4 separate regions of the Homo sapiens genome follow, and regions 1, 3 and 4 are each linked to region 2. Evidence: promoter capture Hi-C in 16 types of primary human blood cells and fetal thymus (Javierre and others, 2016). All regions are on one chromosome and are shown on one strand. The core of a region is centred on a gene start or on the middle of the fragment in contact, and the rest is flanking DNA. Distances in the headings are between cores, read along the strand shown. Region 1 overlaps CCDC125 (coiled-coil domain containing 125). Region 2 holds the start of MARVELD2 (MARVEL domain containing 2). Region 3 overlaps CDK7 (cyclin dependent kinase 7). Region 4 overlaps CENPH (centromere protein H).

The links. The method cuts DNA at HindIII sites, captures the fragments that hold promoters and counts their contacts. A CHiCAGO score of 5 or more calls a contact.
Region 1: a fragment that was not itself captured here is called in contact with the fragment with the promoter of MARVELD2 in region 2 in 1 of 17 cell types (neutrophils); the score reaches 7.3 in neutrophils.
Region 3: a fragment that was not itself captured here is called in contact with the fragment with the promoter of MARVELD2 in region 2 in 8 of 17 cell types (erythroblasts, neutrophils, total B cells and 5 more); the score reaches 7.6 in erythroblasts.
Region 4: a contact is called between a fragment that was not itself captured here and the fragment with the promoter of MARVELD2 in region 2, in 2 of 17 cell types (neutrophils and erythroblasts). The highest score is 8.4, in neutrophils.

Annotation. Positions count from the first base shown.
Region 1 is chr5:69,282,776-69,285,475 of GRCh38, reverse strand. It overlaps CCDC125 (coiled-coil domain containing 125), which reads left to right. Exons shown (of 12, transcript NM_176816.5): 11 at 9-139; 12 at 2,442-2,700. Among named protein-coding and RNA genes, the nearest start is that of CCDC125, 49 kb to the left of the region's middle. The HindIII fragment of the contact is 2,278 bases long and covers 185-2,462 here.
Region 2 is chr5:69,413,629-69,416,448 of GRCh38, reverse strand. It overlaps MARVELD2 (MARVEL domain containing 2), which reads right to left and starts at 1,333. Exons shown (of 7, transcript NM_001038603.3): 1 at 1,279-1,333. It overlaps RAD17 (RAD17 checkpoint clamp loader component), which reads right to left. Exons shown (of 19, transcript NM_133338.3): 19 at 1,648-2,418. The coding sequence ends at 2,157. RefSeq lists enhancers at 1-672, 673-1,556. The HindIII fragment of the contact is 19,290 bases long and covers 1-2,820 here.
Region 3 is chr5:69,252,018-69,254,717 of GRCh38, reverse strand. It overlaps CDK7 (cyclin dependent kinase 7), which reads right to left. Exons shown (of 12, transcript NM_001799.4): 3 at 2,267-2,300; 4 at 49-116. Among named protein-coding and RNA genes, the nearest start is that of CDK7, 18 kb to the right of the region's middle. The HindIII fragment of the contact is 554 bases long and covers 1,041-1,594 here.
Region 4 is chr5:69,200,919-69,203,618 of GRCh38, reverse strand. It overlaps CENPH (centromere protein H), which reads right to left. Exons shown (of 9, transcript NM_022909.4): 6 at 1,050-1,113; 7 at 649-700. Among named protein-coding and RNA genes, the nearest start is that of CENPH, 13 kb to the right of the region's middle. The HindIII fragment of the contact is 3,881 bases long and covers 1-2,700 here.

The DNA of each region.
Region 1 (2,700 bases), core at 74-2,573, 130 kb after region 2:
AATTTTAGGATTTCCATCACCAAGGAGTAAGAAGACCTTCGGGCAGAGACTGTTGGGTATGCTCCCTTCAGAAAACAGTTCTAAGAGGATGGAAGACCAGGACAGTCCTCAAGAGGTCCTTAAGATGCTCATAGATTTGGTTAGTGTCTTTGCTTTTTTTTGCAGGTTATGGTTAAGCCAAGCTTGTCCAACCCACGGTCCGTGGGGAGCATGCAGCCCAGAACAGCTTTGAATGTGGCCCAACACAAATTCGTAAACTTTCTTAAAACATTATGAGATCTTTTTGATATATATATATATTTTTTTAGTTCATCAGCTATCATTAGTGTTAGTGTATTTTTTTGTTTTGTTTGTTTTTTGGTTTTTTTGTTTGTTTGGTTTTTGAGACAGAGTCTCTGTCACCCAGGCTGGAGTGCAGCGGCGCGATCTCGGCTCACTGCAACCTCCACCTCCCGGGTTCAAGCAATTCTCCTGCCTCAGCCTCTAGAGTAGCTGGGACTGCAGGCGCCCACCACCACGCCTGGCTAATTTTGTGTGTGCGTTTTTAGTAGAGACAGGATTTCACCATGTTGGCCAGGCTGGTCTCAAACTCCTGACCTCAAGTGATCTGCCCACCTCGGCATCCCAAAGTGCTGGGATTACAGGCGTGACCCACCATGCCCAGCCAGTGTTAGTGTATTTTATGTGTGGCCCAAGACAATTCTTCTTCTTCCAGTGTGGCCCAGGGAAGCCAAAAGATTGGACACCCCTAGGTTAAGCTAATCTATTTGCTTCCTGTTAATTCAACTCTTTATCTCTCTAGACTTGCACTTGCCTTCTATGTCCTTTTCCCAGTTGGAGTACCAGACTCTACCTTCATGATCTTTATCTCCCTCAGCTCATCTTTTCTCGTCATTCATATTCTTTCTGTGCAGGTTTAAAGGCTCCATCTTGGAAAACAGGGGGCTCCTGTAGTTAACTCCAGCCAGCTTTGCCATCTACATTTATATATATACAGTTTGTGACAAGTCTGCCTGTTTATTGAGGCATTTTTAAAGTGTTCAAGGCATTTCCTCACACATTATATCCTTTACAGTCCTGCTACCCACATTCCACATGGAATGACTAAACTAAGACACTGAGACTCAGGTTATATGAACATACTTATCTCTAGACTGTTATATATTTGCATACAAATATATGAAAGCAATTTTATATACAAATAACTTCAACATTATTTTATAAATATGCACGTTGATATATTTTTTATATGTTGATATTATATACCTATATATACACACTTCATATAGATCTATATTTTCCCTTCATTTCCAGATGACTTGCAAAATTTTCAATGCTGTCTTCTGTTTTTTTTTTTAAAAAATTATTTTTAAAAAATAATCGTCGGGGCTGGGCACAGTGGCTCATGCCTGTAATCCCAGCACTTTGGGAAGCCGAGGCGGGTGGATCATGAGGTCAGGAGATCGAGACCATCCTGACTAACACGGTGAAACTGTCTCTACTAAAAATACAAAAAATTAGCCAGGTGTGGTGGCTGGCACCTGTAGTCCCTAGCTACATGGGAGGCTGAGACAGGAGAATGGTGTGAACCCAGGAGAGCGGAGCTTGCAGTGAGCCAAGATCATGCAACTGCACTCCAACCTGGGTGACAGAGCGAGACTCTGTCTCAAAAAAAAAAAAAAATTGTCAGCCTGGCATGGTGGCACACATCTGTAATTCCAGCACTTTGGGAGGCCGAGGCGAGTGGATCACTTGAGGCCAGGAGTTCGAGACCAGCCTACAAAAATTAGCAAGGTGTGGTGGTGCACGCCTATAGTCCCAGCTACTCTACTCGGGAGGGTGAGGCCCAAGAATCACTTGAGCCTGGGAGGCAGAGGCTGCAGTGAGCCAAGATGGCATCACTGCATTCCAGCCTGGGCAACAGAGCCAGACCCTGTCTTAAAAAAAAAAAGAATTGGCCGGGCACGGTGGCTCACGCCTGTAATCCCAGCACTTTGGGAGGCCAAGGTGGGCTGATCACAAGGTCAGGAGATTCAGACCATCCTGGCAAACACAGTGAAACCCCGTCTCTACTAAAAAATGCAAAAAATTAGCTGGGTGTGGTGGCGGGCACCTGTGGTCCCAGCTACTTGGGAGGCTGAGGCAGGAGAATAGTGTGAACCTGGGAGGCAGAGCTTGCAGTGAGTGGAGATAGTGCCACTGCACTCCAGCCTGGGTGACAGAGCCAGACTCCGTCTCAAAAAAAAAAAAAAAAAGATTCATGAATAACATGTAGTATAATGTTTGGGGATCAGGTGATACCTAATTTATTCATACTGATGGACAGATCAGTATGAATATTAGGGTTGAATAACTTGATAAAATAGTACAATACTCCTTTCTCTGAATATATTCTGTGATTTATTGACTAACTTGTACATGTTTAATTTCTGTGCATGCAGCTTAATGATAAAGAAGAAGCTTTGGCTCATCAAAGAAAAGTTAGCTACATGCTTGCTCGGGCATTGGAAGACAAAGACACTGCTTCAAACGAGAATAAAGAAAAAAATCCTATAAAAGAGAATTTCCCTTTCAACAACCCCTGGCGTAAGACTTCAGAATTCTCTGTTTTGGGTGATCCTATACATTCAAGTGTCTGCATTTTAAATTCTGTGGGCTGCATTTGTTCAATCCAGCACTCTCAAATAGATCCAAACTATA
Region 2 (2,820 bases), core at 84-2,583:
CACACAGGGTATGTACAGACTGGAGACAAGGGAATGCGGTGGAAACCCAGGGTCTTCTAATAGGGCACTCCGACCTTAGAGGATTAACTGTGATGGCCCCAGCAGGGTGCCCAATGCAAAGCGGCTCTGTATATTATAACAATCAGTTATTTTTGTACCTTTCTCTTTCTTTCTCTAAAAAAGTGTAAGTTCTAGAAATGCTATTACGACTCTAGTTTTTGAAACACATTCCTAAGAAATGTAGAAGCAAAAGCACAACAAATGATTTTAGCAAGTTTTACACAGCATTTACAGGATACGCTATGCTTAATTCAACTCACTGGTAAAAATACGATTCACTGTAATGGATTTAACTCTTCACCTGTGAAGTGGCTTATTTGAATCAAACCACCCTATCCATTTTTAAAGAAAAAACAAGCAATTATTAAAGAGTTGTGGAAAAGCAAGATAATGTGATTTTTAGAAGGGAATGGTTAGCTGTATTTCATTACATCTTAAATATCTGGATACCCCTAATGTCTTTCAAGATGTCACTGAGAGTTCGTTCTGGTCCCGCAGGTCGCGGCAGCGTGTGTCTTTGTCCTGCTCAGGCCCCGGACCCTTACTCCACTCTTGGACACTCATCTTGGAAAGCCGCGGCAATGGCAGGAGAAATGGCTGCCCCAGCAAAGTGTCACAGGAATCATGCCTGGTCACCTTTACACAAACAGAACCACCGGTTTACCTGGCTTAAAAGTTTTGCTGGACCCAAGAAACGGGTAGATTTCGGATACTTCTGCGCTTCCGAGGGGTCGGGAAAGGCTCTGCGGTTCTAACTAACCCACGACTGCCCGGGGGTACCGAGCATTTTAGCTGTGGGGTCTCCCCCGCGCCAGCCTCTGGGCGCCCGGTCCCACAAATCTCATTGTGTCCTCGGTTCTGCCCGCGCCGGCTAGGCGTTCGTCTTCGCGTTTCTGGCTGAAACCCACTGTCTTTGGAGATTCCGACCCAACGAGGCCGAAACTAAGCCGGGAGACCTCCCAGGTAAGGAGCACCGAGATCGCCCCGAGGTGCGCGCCCCGCCCCGCGCCCGGAAGGACGGCGGCTCGGCCGCACCTGCGTCCGCAGAGCGAAACCTGGCGGGACGCGGGCCTCCCCGGATCCCTGGCTCCGGCCTCCCCCGCGGGCTATGGCAGGCTGAGCGCCGAGCGCGGGCAGCCGTCCGTCGCAGCACACCTGGGCCGGGGGCCGCCGGGCCCTCCTCTCCCGGTCACGTGGCCCCACCCCGGTCCCACTTACCTGCGCAGCCGCCAGGAAGAGCGCGCACGCTGCCCAGGACTCTGAAACCGGTATCGGGCTCCCGGGGTGGGGGCGGGGCCGGGACGGGACGAGCCCAGCTTTCCCCGCCCGGCTTTGCCCCGCCCGGATCTGTCGGCCCGACAACCGCTCTGGGCCCAGGCTGCTCGGTGCCACCAGCCGGCACGTCGCGGCAATGACCACACACTGGGCTCTTTTGGAAAGAGTTTACAGTTCTCATCGCAACGTTGCCATCCTCTTCCCTATCTTTTGAAAAGTTTGACACTGGGGGAGGGAGATTGGTGCACTGTGCTTAAGGACCCATGGCAGCGAGTGCGTGCTAGATAATGTTAAAAGACAGGAGAAACAAAATTAAATTCAACATTTTAATTGTGATATAACTTATGTAAATACTTTCCAAAAAGTATCTAAGATATTCCACTGTACAACACATCAAAACTATCTGAGAAGCGGGAGACAATAAAGTGTAAATAAGGCACACAGTTTACACTCGTAATTGCATCCTAAACTGTTGAATAGTTGATATTTACAACCCCCCAATAACGTTTTTGCATCCTGAATTAGTCCTTCACATCTTGATATTTGGCATAATGTTCAAACACACTTTATACACACTGACCGCTCCTTAAACCACTCACAGATTTAATAAATACCGAAAAAATTAAGAGATTTGAAGGCTTGATCTTCTATTTACTTCAAGATGACAGAAGAGTAGGTTTCTTGTGATGAAATACTACAAGAATGAAGAATTAACAAACTGTTGTGTAATTCATCAGAAAAGCATATTAACTCTGCTGAAGTACCACTGAATGAAACAAAAATGAAGCTGTGAAGTAGCAATCTGATTAGCAGGCTGGCTTCTATGTCCCATCACTCTCGTAGTCTTCTATTATTATGTTTTCTTCCATGTCTCCTTGGGCTGAAAAGGGCTGGGGCTGGCTAGCAGGCAGTTCACTGGCACTATTCTGACTCAAAGGAAGAGACCAGGTTTCCGGCACAGTGGCTTGAGTGGGTTCACCCAGAGATTCCTCTGCAGAATGTCCTCCATTAAGCTGGGCTTCATCTCCGCTGTCAGGGTCTATCATTCCATGTTCCCTGTCAGTCAGGGCTTCCATTTTCAATCTGTCAGATTCACAGTGCAGGCATTAATAAGAACCAAAGGAGAAGATTTTTAAATTACACCATGAGTGTGATGATTATGAAGCCATCTTTCATTTACCTACATTGTGCTGTTTAGCTAGTCCCTTTAACTATAAAAACAAAACTACAAGGTAAATGACAAACTGAATAAGTTCCTACAACTTAAAATACAAAAAGGAGCTGAACACGATGGCTCATGCCTGTACTATCTGCACTGTGGGAGGCCAAGGCAGGCAGATCACTTGAGGCCAGGAGTTCAAGACCAGCCTGGCCAACATGGCAAAAACCCATCTCTATTGAAAATAGAAAAATTAGCCAGGCGTGGTGGCACGCATCTGTAATCCCAGCTACTCAGGAGGCTGAGGCAGGAGAATTGTTTGAACC
Region 3 (2,700 bases), core at 68-2,567, 160 kb after region 2:
AGAAAAGGCAGAGTCCCAAATCCCAGTAACAGTTTTGATCATACTCACACCAATTATATTTGGATGACTTAGCTCCTGTAATAATTTTATCTCTCTTAAGGCGGTTCTATTTATACCTATATAAAAAGGCAAAGCAAAAAGTGAATAATTCTGAAATCTCAAACCTTACAAACACTTCTTTTTTTTTTTTTTTTTTGAGATGGAGTCTCGCTCTGTCGCCCAGGCTAGAGTGTAGTGGCGTGATCTCGGCTCACTGCAACCTCTGCTTCCCGGGTTCAAGCAATTCTCCTGCCTCAGCCTCCAGAGTAGCAGGGATTACAGGCACGCGCCACCACGCCCGGCTAATTTTTGTATTTTTAGTAAAGGCGGGGTTTCACCATGTTCATCAGGCTGGTCTCCAACTCCTGACCTCGTGATCCACCCGCTTTGGCCTCCTGAAGTGCTGGGATTACAGGCGTGAGCCACCACACCCAGCCACAAACACATATTTTTAAAGAAAGGTTAGTAATCTCAGAAAATAGTGAACATTACCCACAAAAATAAGGGCTACTTTGACAATTTTTATGTCAAATCTGTTGTTCTTTTACATTGCTTTATTTTTATTTATTTATTTTTTTTGAGATGGGGTTTCACCCTGTCAGCCAGGTTGGAGTGCAGTGGCATGATCTCGGCTCACAGCAGCCTCCACCTCCCAGACTCAAGTAATTTTCCCACCTCAGCCTCCCGAGTAGCTGGGACCACAGGTGTGCACCTCCACGCCTGGCTAATTTTTTGTATTTTCGTTAGAGATGGGGTTTTGCCATATTGGCCAGGCTGGTTTCGAACTCCTGAGCTCAGGCGATCTACCCACCTCACCCTCCCAAAGTGCTGGGATTACAGGCGTAAGCCATGGCACCAGGCCAATATTGCTTTACTTTTAAAATAGCTTAACAAAGACTACGACAAATGGTGAAAAATATTTCACCTTATCTATACCAGGATCTGAACACCACTACTAGACTAACAACATATATAAGTGTGCAGCATATAGGTGATAAGCTTCCCTACTCTTGCCCTACAAATATTAGTGGCATATTGTTTGTGCTAAAAGCAAACTAGTGATAAGATAGTATATTTTCCAATACAAATGACAGATTTCAAAATTAAAAATTAGATACAGGCCGGGCGCGGTGGCTCGTAATCCCAGCACTTTGGGAGGCCTAGGTGGGCAGATCACTTGAGGCCAGGAGATCGAGACCAGCCTGGCCAAGGTGGCAAAACCCCATCTCTACTAAAAATACAAAAAATTGGCTGGGCATGGTGGTGTGCACCTGTAATCCTAGCTACTCAGGAAGCTGAGGCAGGAGAATCGCTTGAACCCGGGAGGTAGAGGTTGCAGTGAGCCGAGATTGCGATACTGCACTCCAGCCTGGGCAACAGAGCATGACTCTGTCTCAAAAAAAATAAACAAAATAAAAATAAGATATAGTATTGGCACTTACACAGACAATGGGTCTCTTTTGTAAGAGCTATTTTATGATGAATCCTAATAAATAAGACTTTGGAAGAAAGTTTAATGAAATAATTTCCTCATGTATCTATTCCATAGTAAGCTTTATGTACTTTCATGAAAATGTATCCTGAATTTTCAAAGTAATTAGAAACTCAGAAACAGAAAAAACAATGGCTTGTAACACCTAAAACAGTAATGAAGACAGAAAGACAAACTAATTAAGCTTGCTGCCTTCCATTTATGTGGGTGATTTGGAATGTTTCTCTGAATATCCAGTAAGTAAAAATCACCAAATACTCCTTCTCTATGCTGAGTCTATCTTTACTCTTCGGGGACCCTGCAGTAACTCTATCCAGAACCATTACTAACTTATTAATTCATACTTTGCTCGTTTCTTCAGTGAGAATGAAAACTTTATGCTGGGCATGGTGGCTCAAGCCTGTAATCCCAGCACTTTGGGAGGCCGAGGTGGGAGGATAGCTTGAGGCCAGGAGTTTGAGAGAAGCCTGAGCAACACAGCCAGACCTCATCTCTACAAAAAATAAAACATTAACCACAAGTGGTGGCACATGTTTACAGCCCTAGCTACTCAAGAGGCTGAGGTGGGAGAACTGCTTGAGTACCTAAGTTTGAGGCTGCAGTGAGCTACGATTGTGTCTCAGTACTCCAGCCTGGGTGACAGAGCAAGACCCTGTCTTTTTAAAAAAAAAAAAAAAAAAAAAAAAAAAAAAGGAGAAAACTTTTCCTATCTGTCAGATTACATGAAATACTTACCATCTTTAGCTTCTGATCTATGTCCAAGTTTGATCTGGTAGAAACGGAAAAAAACCCAAATATATTAAAAATGTGTTAAATTATTTAGAATCAATGAATAATGTGTAAATACTTCAAATACTTCGCCACAGAAAAAAAAACAATTAGCAACCAATATGTACCTACTAGGCAAAAAGAGAGTAGGAATCATGATCAGAAAGATAAAATTAACAATATAAGAGAGAATCAAATACCTACCCTTGTCCCTTAAGTTTCTGAACTACACATTCAAATAATAAAATTAAGAAAAATCTATTTTACCTTTTCAAGGTTCAATGTGGACCAAATAACTAAGGGTACCCTGATTAAAAATAAATACGTAACTTCAAATTAGGCTACTTGGGAGGAAAGATACAGAAAATAACATGCTGTAGAGTTGGTAATAAGCCCAATAA
Region 4 (2,700 bases), core at 22-2,521, 210 kb after region 2:
GGCAGGTGGATCATCTGAGGTCGGGAGTTCAAGACCAGCCTGGCCAACATGGTGAAATCCCATCTCTACTAAAAAAATACGAAAACTAGCCAGGTGTGATAGGACATGCCTGTAATCTCAGCTACTCTGGAGGCTGAGGCACAAGAATTGCTCAAACCCAGGAGGCGGAGGATGCAGTGAGCCGAGATCGTGCCACTGCACTCCAGCATGGGCGACAGAGTGAGATTCTGTCTCCAAAAAAAAATACCATATTAAAAAATTTTTTTTAACATAAAAATACAAAAATTAGCCAGGCATGGTGGTGGGTGCCTGTAGTTCCAGCTATTCAGGAGGCTGATGCAGGAGAATCACTTGAATTTGGGAGGCAGAGGTTGCAGTGAGCCAAGATCAAGTCACTGCATTCCACCTGGGTGATAGAGCAAGACTGTCTCAGAAAAAGCAAACAAAAAACGAAAATAAAGTTCTAAAACAATGAGAATAAACAGAACAAAATGTACTTTATATCACTTTTTAAGTTGCCATGTCAAAAATTTTAAGGAATTTTGGAAGTCGGAAATTAGGAAATTTCTCAGTGGCTAAGAGATCTGGCCTTATCAATCTATAAAGTAAGCAAAATGTGTTCTGCCAAAAAAAAAGTGTTCTACATACGCAATCTCTTCTTTCTAATATCAAGCAGTTTTTCCTCTAAATCCCAAGATTCCTGTTATTAAAAATAAAAAAGTTAAAGCACATTACTGTATGTAAGGACAAACCTGTAATACTTAAATCACTGAGTTTATCTACTAGCCTTAGTTATCTAAAGTTCCAGTTTTCAATTCCTCTATTTCCAGACAGCAAAAGGAAGACAGTAACTTAAATTATAAGTAGATAATGTTCAACATTAGTCAGAAATAATAGAATTTTGAAAAAAAGAGAGAACTCAAGGACAGCGAATTCCAATCATAGCATTCCCTTTGGACAATCTATTTAATCATATACAATACAGTTACCAGCAAGAAGTTGAGAGTAAAATCATGAGAATGCATAATCAGCCTAATGTGTAAGTTTACCTGCTGTGATTTCATTATTAATTTATTTAGCTCTAATAGGTGTTTCATGTTATCCATGAGCACACTGAAAAGGAAACAAAAAGATGATTTATTAAGGTTATTTGTAACTTAATTAAAAATAATAGCTGTCATTAATGAAGGAATCAATGAGTGAAAACTTACTTTCATTAAATCCACCGTACACTTGGATAAAAAGTCAGTTTAACAAAATAAATCTGGAAAAGTTTGATGTAAACTAAATTTCTGTTAAAACTAGATATGCATTTCCCTAGAAAAATGTTTGGTCACAGACATTGAAGAATACCAAATTTAAAAATGTGGGAACATTTCTAAAAATTTCATATTTAGAGAGGAAACACCCTAATAACTTCCTAACAAGCTGCTTTTGTTTTGAATTTATTTTTTAGAGCAATTTTAGTTTTTATTTTGAATGTATTTTTTAGAGCAATTTTAACAAGCTGCTTTTGTTTTGAATGTATTTTTTAGAGCAATTTTAGTTTCACAGCAAAACCGAGTGGAAGGTACAGAGATTTCTCATATACACCCTACCCCTGACACATGCATAGCCTCTCCCATTATCAACATCCCCTACACCAAAGTGGCACATTTGTTACAATCAACAAACCTATATCGACACATCATTGTTACCCAAAGTCCGGATTTTACATCAAGGTTCACTCTTGCTTGTGTATAGCCTACGGGTTTGTTTTCTGTGACAGGGTCTCGCTCTGCCACCCAGGCTGGAGTGCACTGGCACAATCACAGCTTCCTGCAACCTCACCTCCTGGGCTCAAGCGATCATCCTGCCTCAGCCTCAGAAGCAGCTGGGATTATAGGCATACACTACCATGTCCCACTAATTTTTACATTTTTTGTAGAGACGGGGTCTCCCTATGTTGCCCAGACTGGTCTGGAACTCCAGGGTTGAAGCAATCCTCCCTCTTCAGCCTCCCAAAATGGTAGGATTATAGACATGAGCTACTGAGGCCCCACCCATTCTTTGGGTTTTGACATATGTATAATTACATGCATCCACCATTATTGCAGCATACAGAATAGTTTCAAGGAACAAACTGCTTTTTTACTTCTTTAACAAATATTTTTGAGTACTTACTACATGCTTTCAAGAACTATGCCAGGTGCCAGGAATGTAAAATAAAATAAAACACAGTATCTGTTTTCAAAGAGGAAAGAATCTAGTGGAGAAAAATAAATCCACAATCATACTATAGCGCAGTAACAAATATGAACCAGAGTTATGCACAGGGTGGAATAAGGATATGAAGTAATTGCCTAGATCAAGTAGTTTGGTATGGCTGGAGCAAAACAGTATGGAATAAGACTGCGCAGAGCAGTGGCTCTCATACTTCAGAGTGCCACAGTCATCTGGGAGGTTCGTTAAGTAAGGATTCCTAGTTCCTGACCTTCAGATATGCTGATTCGGGGCCTGGTTCAGTGGCTCATGCCTGTAATCCCAGCACTTTTGGAGGCTGAGGCAGGAGGATTGCTTGAGCTCAGGAGTTTTGAGACCTGGGCAATATAGCAAGACCACATCTCTATTTAAAAAAAAAAAAAAGGTCAGGTACAGTGGATCCCTTGAAGTCAGAAGCTCGAGACTAGCCTGGCCAACATGGCAAAACCCCATCTCTAC